Regions from separate parts of the Homo sapiens genome. Here region 1 is linked to region 2. The links are contacts of gene promoters, found by promoter capture Hi-C in blood cells and fetal thymus (Javierre and others, 2016). All regions are on one chromosome and are shown on one strand. Each heading gives the region's core, a stretch centred on a gene start or on the middle of the fragment in contact. The rest is flanking DNA. Distances are from core to core; before and after follow the strand shown. Region 1 overlaps HIPK1 (homeodomain interacting protein kinase 1). Region 2 holds the start of MAGI3 (membrane associated guanylate kinase, WW and PDZ domain containing 3).

Region 1 (4,144 bases), core at 1,341-3,840, 560 kb before region 2:
AGCACTTTGGGAAGCCAAGGTGAGTGGATTGCTTGAGGTCACGAGTTCGAGAACAGCCTGGTCAACACGGTGAAACTCCATCTCTACTAAAAATACAAAAATTAGCTGGGCATGGTGGCGGGCAGCTGTAATCCCAACTACTCAGAGGCTGAGGCAAGAGAATTACTTAAACTTGGGAGGCATAAGTTGCAATGAGTTGAGATCTGCCACTGCACTCCAGCCTGGGCGACAGAGCGAGACTCCATCTCAACAAAAGAAAAAGGATGGTACCCAAGCTATTTGGATCCAAGATTTCAGCTCTTAGGCACTGGATCATCTTCTCCAAATAATTTCCTTTCTTTCTTACAAGTCATGGAATTATAATCTATAAGGACACTCCAGATCCAGATCCAGATCCAGATTCAGATTCCTCATGTTACAGGAGTTAAATGGAAAACAGATCTTTCCGTGAAGAACCATCTAACTGGCCGTGTCTCCTCACAGAATACCCAGGTTTCTCAAACTACTTTCAAGTGATATGTGCTTATTGTTGTTTTGTGTATATGTGCAGGGGGTTGAGGGAAGGCAAGGATTAAGCAAGGAGAATATAATTTCCCTAAATAAGAATATCCCTCCCCATCTAAGCAAACTAGGCATAGAAGAAAAAAAAAATCCTCCCCTAGTATTTATACATAAATAGTGGCCCTTAGAAAACAGTAAATCTGGGGACTCCACAGGGCCTGAAAGCTTTTCTGATCCTTAAATACAAATAGCAGTCGACCCAGGCCTCTTCGGGCTTACACTTTTTAACAGCTATGGGTGGAACCACCAATATCATCAGTTTTTGTAGTATTTAATTTGAACTGTGGTTTTGTTTACCAAAGAAATAACTGGCCGGGTGCGGTGGCTCATGCCTGTAATACAAGCACTTTGGGAGGCCGAGGAGGCTGGATCACCTGAAGTCAGGAGTTTGAGACCAGCCTGGCCAACATGGTGAAACCCCATCTCTACTAAAAATATAAAAAATCAGCCAGGTGTGGTGGCGGGCACCTGTAATCCCAGCTACTCAGGAGGCTGAGGCAGGAGAATTGCTTGAACCCAGGAGACGGAGGTTGCAGTGAGCTGACACAGTGCCACTGCACTCCAGCCTGGGTGACAGAGTAAGACTCTGTCTCAAAAAAAAAAAAAAAAGAAAAGAAAAGAAGTAACCCTCAAAAGTGATATTCCTGTTGCAGGTGGCTAGAGGCACATATTACTGATGGAATTTCAGAGTTCAGTGAAATCTCAACCATAATGGCATGTTTTCAACACTGCACAAGTTTGACAGGCGCATTAATAAGCTAGTAAGACTACCCAGAAACAACATAAAAGCTTTTCTAAAATTGAAAAGGAACAAAATTTTCTACTCCTAGTGAGCAGAATCATTAATTTCCAAGTTCATGACAATGCCAAAAATAGCTGGCAGGGGGAGCACAACTGGCAATGAGCCAAAATAAAAACTGGGTTTAGAACATTCCAAAGCATCAATTGGAGGGCAGCATATTGATTTTGCTATTCCTACCATACTAGAAAGACATTTTAAAGTCCAAAAGGTAGGTCACAGAGAATGGCCAGGCCACTCTATAACTTTCTTCTTTAAAAGGTAGCGATAACAGGCCAGGCGCGGTGGCTCACGCCTATAATCCTAGCACTGTGGGTGGCCAAGGCACGTGGATGGCCTGAGGTCAGGAGTTCAAGTCCAGCCTGGCCAACATGATGAAACCCAGTCTCTACTAAAAATACAAAAATTAGCTGGGCATGGTGGCAGGCGCCTGTAATCCCAACTACTCCAGAGGCTGAGGCAGGAGAATCGCTTGAACCCGGGGGGCAGAGGTTGCAGTGAGCCAAGATTACGTCAATTCACTCCAGACTGGGCGTAAGAGCGAAACTCCGTCTCAGAAAAAAATAAAAAAGGTAGCAATAATATATGATAACTGTCTCGAGCTTAAAGTTTTCTGGGAAATTAAGGAAAATATCACTTCCACAGCCCCCAAGTCCCATTTAATTAAAAAAAAAAACTGAAGATTAGCTGAAAGTTTTTTCATTTGGTCTCACCCTGCTTTTGGAGTGACAAAAGCAGCTAAGGACTTCCAGCAAAAGCTCAGTCAAAACAGCAACTCTACCGTATCTACCTTATAAAAAGGCAAATAGCAAAAGGAAAAACAAAAAAAGGAAAGCAGTTTAAAAAAAAAAAAAATACGGCCAGAAACGGCGGTTCACACCTATAATCCCAGCACTTTGGGAAGCCAAGGCAGGAGGATCACTTGAGCAGGAGTTTGAGACCAGCCTAGGCAACACAGCAAGACCCAATCTCTACCAAAAAAATTTAAAAAATTAGCCAGGTATGGTGGTGCATGCCTGCAGTTCTAGCTACTCAGGAAGCTGAGGTGGAAGGATCACTTGAGCCCAGGAGGTCAAGGCTGCAGTGAGCCATGATTGCGCCACTGCACTCCAGCCTGAGACCCTGTCTCAAAAACAAACAAAAAAGCAGTAAGGCTGCTTAGTTCACTGAGGGTTTTGTATTATTTGGGCCTATAAATGTTAGACTTACCCAAACTCTACGAAGCAAAAAGACAAGTTATTTTCTACTTTACTGAACAGTAAGGCATCACTAGAGCAGGTTTATCTCTAAGGACTGAATACTTTAAACTGTGAATCCAGATTATAATTATTAGAATTATTTTCATTACATCTTTCCTCTTGGCCTCCTTATTTCTTAATCCCTCAATATAAACTCTACAGACACGTAAAACTCTGGTTCTACCTCATTTGTGTAATAAGGAAACAGAGTTAGATAATTACTCTTCTAGGTCCCTTTCCAGCTGTAACATTCCAACAACTGGGCAGTAAAAAAGGTTATCTACAGAAGCACAGGAAAGTGAAAGAAACTGTTAAAAACTGGCAGTGTTCACTTCAGTAGGAAAATGGCATTAATTGTGCTTTGAACATGGCAAGTCTCCTCTTTGAAGACACATCCCATCCTTAAAAAACAAATACTAAACAGGCTCTGGTTATTACAGCTAAGTGATAGAAACAACAATCCCTGCCTTTTGATTCCCCAACTTCAAACTTCTTTAAGTTGAAAAATTCTTCCAACCAACATTGTTGAGGTTAATTTCACTGGCACCCAGAGCAAGCTAAGGTTAGGATCACTTAACACAAATCACTCTGATTATTTTCATGAACATTTTCGTTTCTTTCTTCCTATCTCAGAGACATCAAACCTACTTACTTACCAATTAGAGAGGTTACATAAAACCTAACTTCCTGCATCAGTGGCTTAGGTGAAACTATATTTTGACTGCCAGAGGAAATTAGATTATTTGTTTGTCTAGGATAAATGGAAGATACGTTTTCCTTCTCTAGACCTTTTCCTTCCGTAAGTAACAAAGTGATTCAGCTTGAAATAAAGGCTGGCTAGTTTGTTCAGTAGGGAAAAACATTCAGCCTGTAAGCATGGCAAACCTTTGTCTCTAAAACTCAAGCCCGAAAGACAGGAGCTTTGCTTGGAGTCTGTGCACATTTACAGTGAGCCAGAGAGTAAAGTATATTATTTCCACTGCCTGAATCATTTAGCCATGCCCAGGGCCAATGGACACAGCAAGTTGGCAAATTTATGTGAGCTGATAATACTGGCATATTATCAGAAAGACAAAGCAAGGTAAACTAAAAAGGTGGGTAAGAGAAGGACTAGCTTTGGAGTCAAAATGCTTCACCAGCCAAACAGATTTCACAGAGGTTTTTTGAAAGACAGAAGGGTGAGGACTTAATGGACTCTAATATGGCAACAAAGCAACATCAAAGAAGCTTAAGAGGACCACTGCGGGTAAAACTAGTGATAAAGAAGGAATGCCTGAGCTGCTGTTCCATCTGCCTTAGGCTCATTATCAAGTATTACTGTGACACAACAGAACACTCATGTTAAATCCTAAACACTGTCAAGCCCTGGGCACTGAACTTCAGTATACAGAGTAATTACTCAGTAATACACAGAATGAACTCCTGTTTTTAAGAGGCAAACTTAGCTCCACTTAAAATTATAGTCAACAACTATATTGCAGTGAATTTAAAGAAAGCTTTGTCGAAGGGTAACTTTGAAGATTTGAAAACCTTAGTTTCTATAAAA
Region 2 (3,979 bases), core at 1,212-3,711:
TCAAAACAAAACACAAAGAAATGATGCAGATGTTCTCACTATTCACTAACTCATGGGATTTGAACTAAGATTTGGCAGCTAGACTAGTAAATGCTGTCTATATAGCCTTTTGCATATTACAGACAGTGCCTGACTAGCTGAATTACAGCCCCAAAAGTCTTTCCTCTGCCTTTCACACATGGCTGTAAAAGTTAGAGTTAAGAAAAAAATTTACAAATTCTCAAAACTATACAGAAAAAGCTGTTTAAAGTCTGCCAAAGTTTTAAAAAATTAACAACAATAAAAAGAAAACCTCACCACATAAACCCATACACTTAAAATGAATACGATGGAATACGCTATAGAAAGAAAATCTTAATTATGACCTTAGGAGCATGTGAGTCTGTGTGTATACATATCCACAATACACAGACATATGTAAACTGCACCACAAACCATCAAGCCCCATTAAGCTCAAGGACTATTAAAGATATATTAATATTTCCAAAGCGAGCTGCTGAGAAAGAAATGAGAAGGAGATAACATATTAAATTTTTATCCAGAATTTTCTAGCATTTTGCCATCAAGGGATGGACTGCTACCTAGCCCAGGTAACAATTAACCAGCCCATTATATTTTGATGCACCGTATACTCAGCAGAGCACATTAAGGAAAAACAGTTTGGTTTCTAATAATGTTACAATCACAATTCTCTCTCCCACAAACATCTAAGACGACAGAACCACATTCTATCTATGCTGAAACAAAACCAACAATGCTGTCTATAACAAATTCATAAGAACTACTACATACTATCAGATCTCACTGTATGCTGTCTCTGATCAATGCTTTGAAACTGACGAGTATGCCATAAACATAACGTGCTTTGCAGCAATTTTTACTAGCATAAAAGATACCAGGGCAACAGAGGCTCCTTTAACCTACCACTTCAACAAAATTCTGTAAAATCAAAAGCGTTACAGAAGCTTTCACTCCGCTAGGCACCTAGGTCTTCCTGCAAAACCCAGACTCTATTCAACAGCTCCCTGCAAGAACACACCAGTCTGCCACATATCACATATTGTACCGTCATCGGTACTCAGACACCTGAACCACCTGGACTGACAGAGTTAGGCTGTCAGCTCTGAGATGTCTGCTAGAGTGCAAGAAACACTGAAGCAGCTAAGCCCTTCCAGGTACACCAGGTGGTAACCTTGGCACCAAGTGCCTCTATAGTAAAGTCCCTTTTTCCCTGTTAGAAGATGCGTAAGATCGTTCCAAAGAAAATGTTACAATCCTAAGGGCCTTTTTGCACAACACAGGAAAAGGCTGGCCTTCTCTAGTCAAAAACTCTTGTCTGCGGGGGGAGATGGAGCTACAAATGTAGGAAACCCAGCTTCTAGTCGCAATTCTGTGACAGCTAGCACAGCTAGCAGAGCAACCGCGCCAAGCCAGAGCTCAGTTTTCCCTTCGGCAAAATGGGACTCACCAACGCCACCCCTCCCCCTCGTCAAGGAGTCTGGCACACCCTAGAGGTCTAAGATTACCCGGGACAATACGCGGTGGGGAGGTGCCGCCGCTCCCAGGACGCCCACCCTGAAGCCCCTCTCCCCAACACCCCGAGACAGATACGCAGGGCCGGCGTACCTGGTTTCACAGTCTTGAGACGGATGGGCTCGCGGAAGTGGCGGATGACAGCCAGGGTGTCCCGGTTGGTGAGCCCGCTGACAGGCGTCCCGTTTACCTCCAGCAGCACATCGCCTGGGCTGGGCGCCTTGCCCGAGACGACGCAGCAGGTGCCCCCGCCGGGCTCCTCGCGGAGCCGCCCCAGGTAGGGGAACTCGCCACGCTCCGCGCCACCGCGGATCTCCGCGCCGAAGTCGCCCGGGGGCCCGGCCCAGGACACGGCGCACTCCTGCACCTTGCTGAGCCAGTGCTTCTTCTTCTTCAGCGTCTTCGACATCCCGAACCCCGCTGCACCATGGGGGAGACCCCGCGCGGGCGGCCGGGGCGCCGCTCCGGCCCCGTCTCAGCCCGGGGGCCCTGGGCGGCCCGCGCAGCCCGGTAAGGGGGGCCTCGCCGCTCCGGCCCCCACCCCGCGACCACAGCCCGCTGGGGGCCCGGCCGTTCCCAGACGCGAGACGCCCCTTGGACGCCCCTCCCGGCTGCGCTCCCCGGGGCTGACCGGACTCCGCGAGGGCCACCGCGGGTTAGGCTGAAGAAAGGAAAAGGGAATTGTCCCCAGGAGGTTCCAGAAGGGGCTTCGGGCGGGGTCACTGCCGCCGGCTGGTCCCTGGGCTCAGCGCCCGAGCGGCGGGAAAGGCTGAGGCGGGGGGGCGGGGAGGTGAAGGGGGAAGAGCCGGGAACGGGAAAAATCCGTGGGGGGCGCGCAGAAGCGCGCGTAGACCCGTCGCGGGATCGATCGTGGCCGCTGCGGAGCTGTAGCGCGGAGACCAACGCCTGCCCAAGCTGCCAGGAAACTGCCGCTTTCAAACCAGCCGCAACCTCCTCCTCCTCCCTTTTCCCTTCCCCCGGCCCTCGCCCATCCCTCATCCAGAGCCCCGCCCCCTCCCGCCGCGCGGCGCCCGGCGCGCTGCCGTCACAGGCTGGGCGCTTGGGAACGAGCCCCGGCCCTGGACTCTCGCGCCAGGGATTGGCCCCCGGCGGGCAGGAGGCGGACCGCCAACGAGAATGGGGACCACTGGTTGGTCGGTGCGAGTGGAGGAGGCGGGCACTAGAATGACTGAAGTTTAGAGAGGGTGGAAAAAAGAAGTTTGGAGAGTGAGGGAGGGCGCAGAGGAGGGGCAGGGGAGTGGAAGGGGCTGTAGGTCGCAGGGCCGGGAGAGGCCCTCTGCGCGGCGGCTGGAGCCGAGGAAAACTCGAATCCGAGAGGGACCGAGCTCCCCGAAGTGGGGGCGTGGCCGGCGAGTTAGGCGGAGACGCGGGCGGAGCCTCTGAGCCTGTGCGGGGCGCAGAGAGGGGCCGGTGTGCTTAGATTGGAAGACAACGTGCGGAGTCCTGAGCCGGCCGAGGTTCCGGGGCCTTTAGGGTGGCCTGTTACAGCCGATAGTTTGCATTGAGTGGATATTGCTTGTTCATTCGTTCATTCAACAGATGTTACTGAACGCCCATTGAGGCAGGGCTTCGGAGTCCGGTTGATGAAAGATATTATAAAATAGAGTCCGGCACTGCTGTATGACCTAAGACAAATTAGACAACCTCTCTGAGCCGCAGCGTCCTCAGTGAAAAGTGAAGATTACAGAAGATGTACAAAATAACTGCATAGTGCCTGACAGTGGGTGGTTGCCTCTTAAAGTTTGGTAGCTGCTGCTGCTGCTGCTGATGACGATGACGATTTTGTGTTAGATATTGTGCTAGGTACTGGGATTCAAGGGTGAAGAAAACAGAAGCCCCGCTATTGAGGAGGTTACAGTCTAGTGGGAGAGACTGAGAAGTAAGCAGACTGCCTGAGGTGAGGGAGTGGGGTGGAGGTAGAAGGTGGATTATTAAGAACTAACCTGGTAGCCAGCAGATCTGGTTGGAGTCCTGACATGCTACTTACTTGCTGTTTGACCTTGGCCAAATCTCAGTTAAAGGAGGTGAAGGGAGAACGAACATTAAATAAAAGATATCGTAGATCCCTTCCAGCTCTAATTTTTCAGAAATTTCACTTGAGCTTTCTCTCTTCCCCGGCTTGACTTACACTCTTCCCTGTCTTTGGAATGCCCTTCATCTCATCTCTTTTAAAACTCCTATCCGTCCTCATCCCAAATGCCGGCTCTTCCAGGTAGCTTTCTCTGATTTCTTGCCCTCAAGTGGAAAGTGTTTTCTCTGAGCTATGATCTTTGTTTCACTTTTGCAGCATGACATTTATTTGTGTAGTCTCCTGTCTCCCTTTAATAGTAGGTGAAAGCCCTTATAAAACTCCACACCTCAGATAGACTGGACCAAGCTTCAATAGCTGCAGTGATTTCGTTGACACCATTGTATCAGTCAGGGT

What was found. The method cuts DNA at HindIII sites, captures the fragments that hold promoters and counts their contacts. A CHiCAGO score of 5 or more calls a contact.
Region 1: a contact is called between a fragment that was not itself captured here and the fragment with the promoter of MAGI3 in region 2, in 2 of 17 cell types (fetal thymus and naive CD4 T cells). The highest score is 6.3, in fetal thymus.

What each region holds. Positions count from the first base shown.
Region 1 is chr1:113,946,627-113,950,770 of GRCh38, reverse strand. The region is part of intron 2 of HIPK1 (homeodomain interacting protein kinase 1); the gene reads right to left. Among named protein-coding and RNA genes, the nearest start is that of HIPK1-AS1, 19 kb to the right of the region's middle. The HindIII fragment of the contact is 2,475 bases long and covers 1,353-3,827 here.
Region 2 is chr1:113,388,997-113,392,975 of GRCh38, reverse strand. MAGI3 (membrane associated guanylate kinase, WW and PDZ domain containing 3) reads right to left here and starts at 2,461. Exons shown (of 21, transcript NM_001142782.2): 1 at 1,627-2,461. The coding sequence starts at 1,942. RefSeq lists enhancers at 1,416-1,465, 1,516-2,015 and silencers at 1,696-1,855, 1,916-2,045, 2,456-2,815, 2,846-2,895, 3,885-3,979. The HindIII fragment of the contact is 2,966 bases long and covers 968-3,933 here.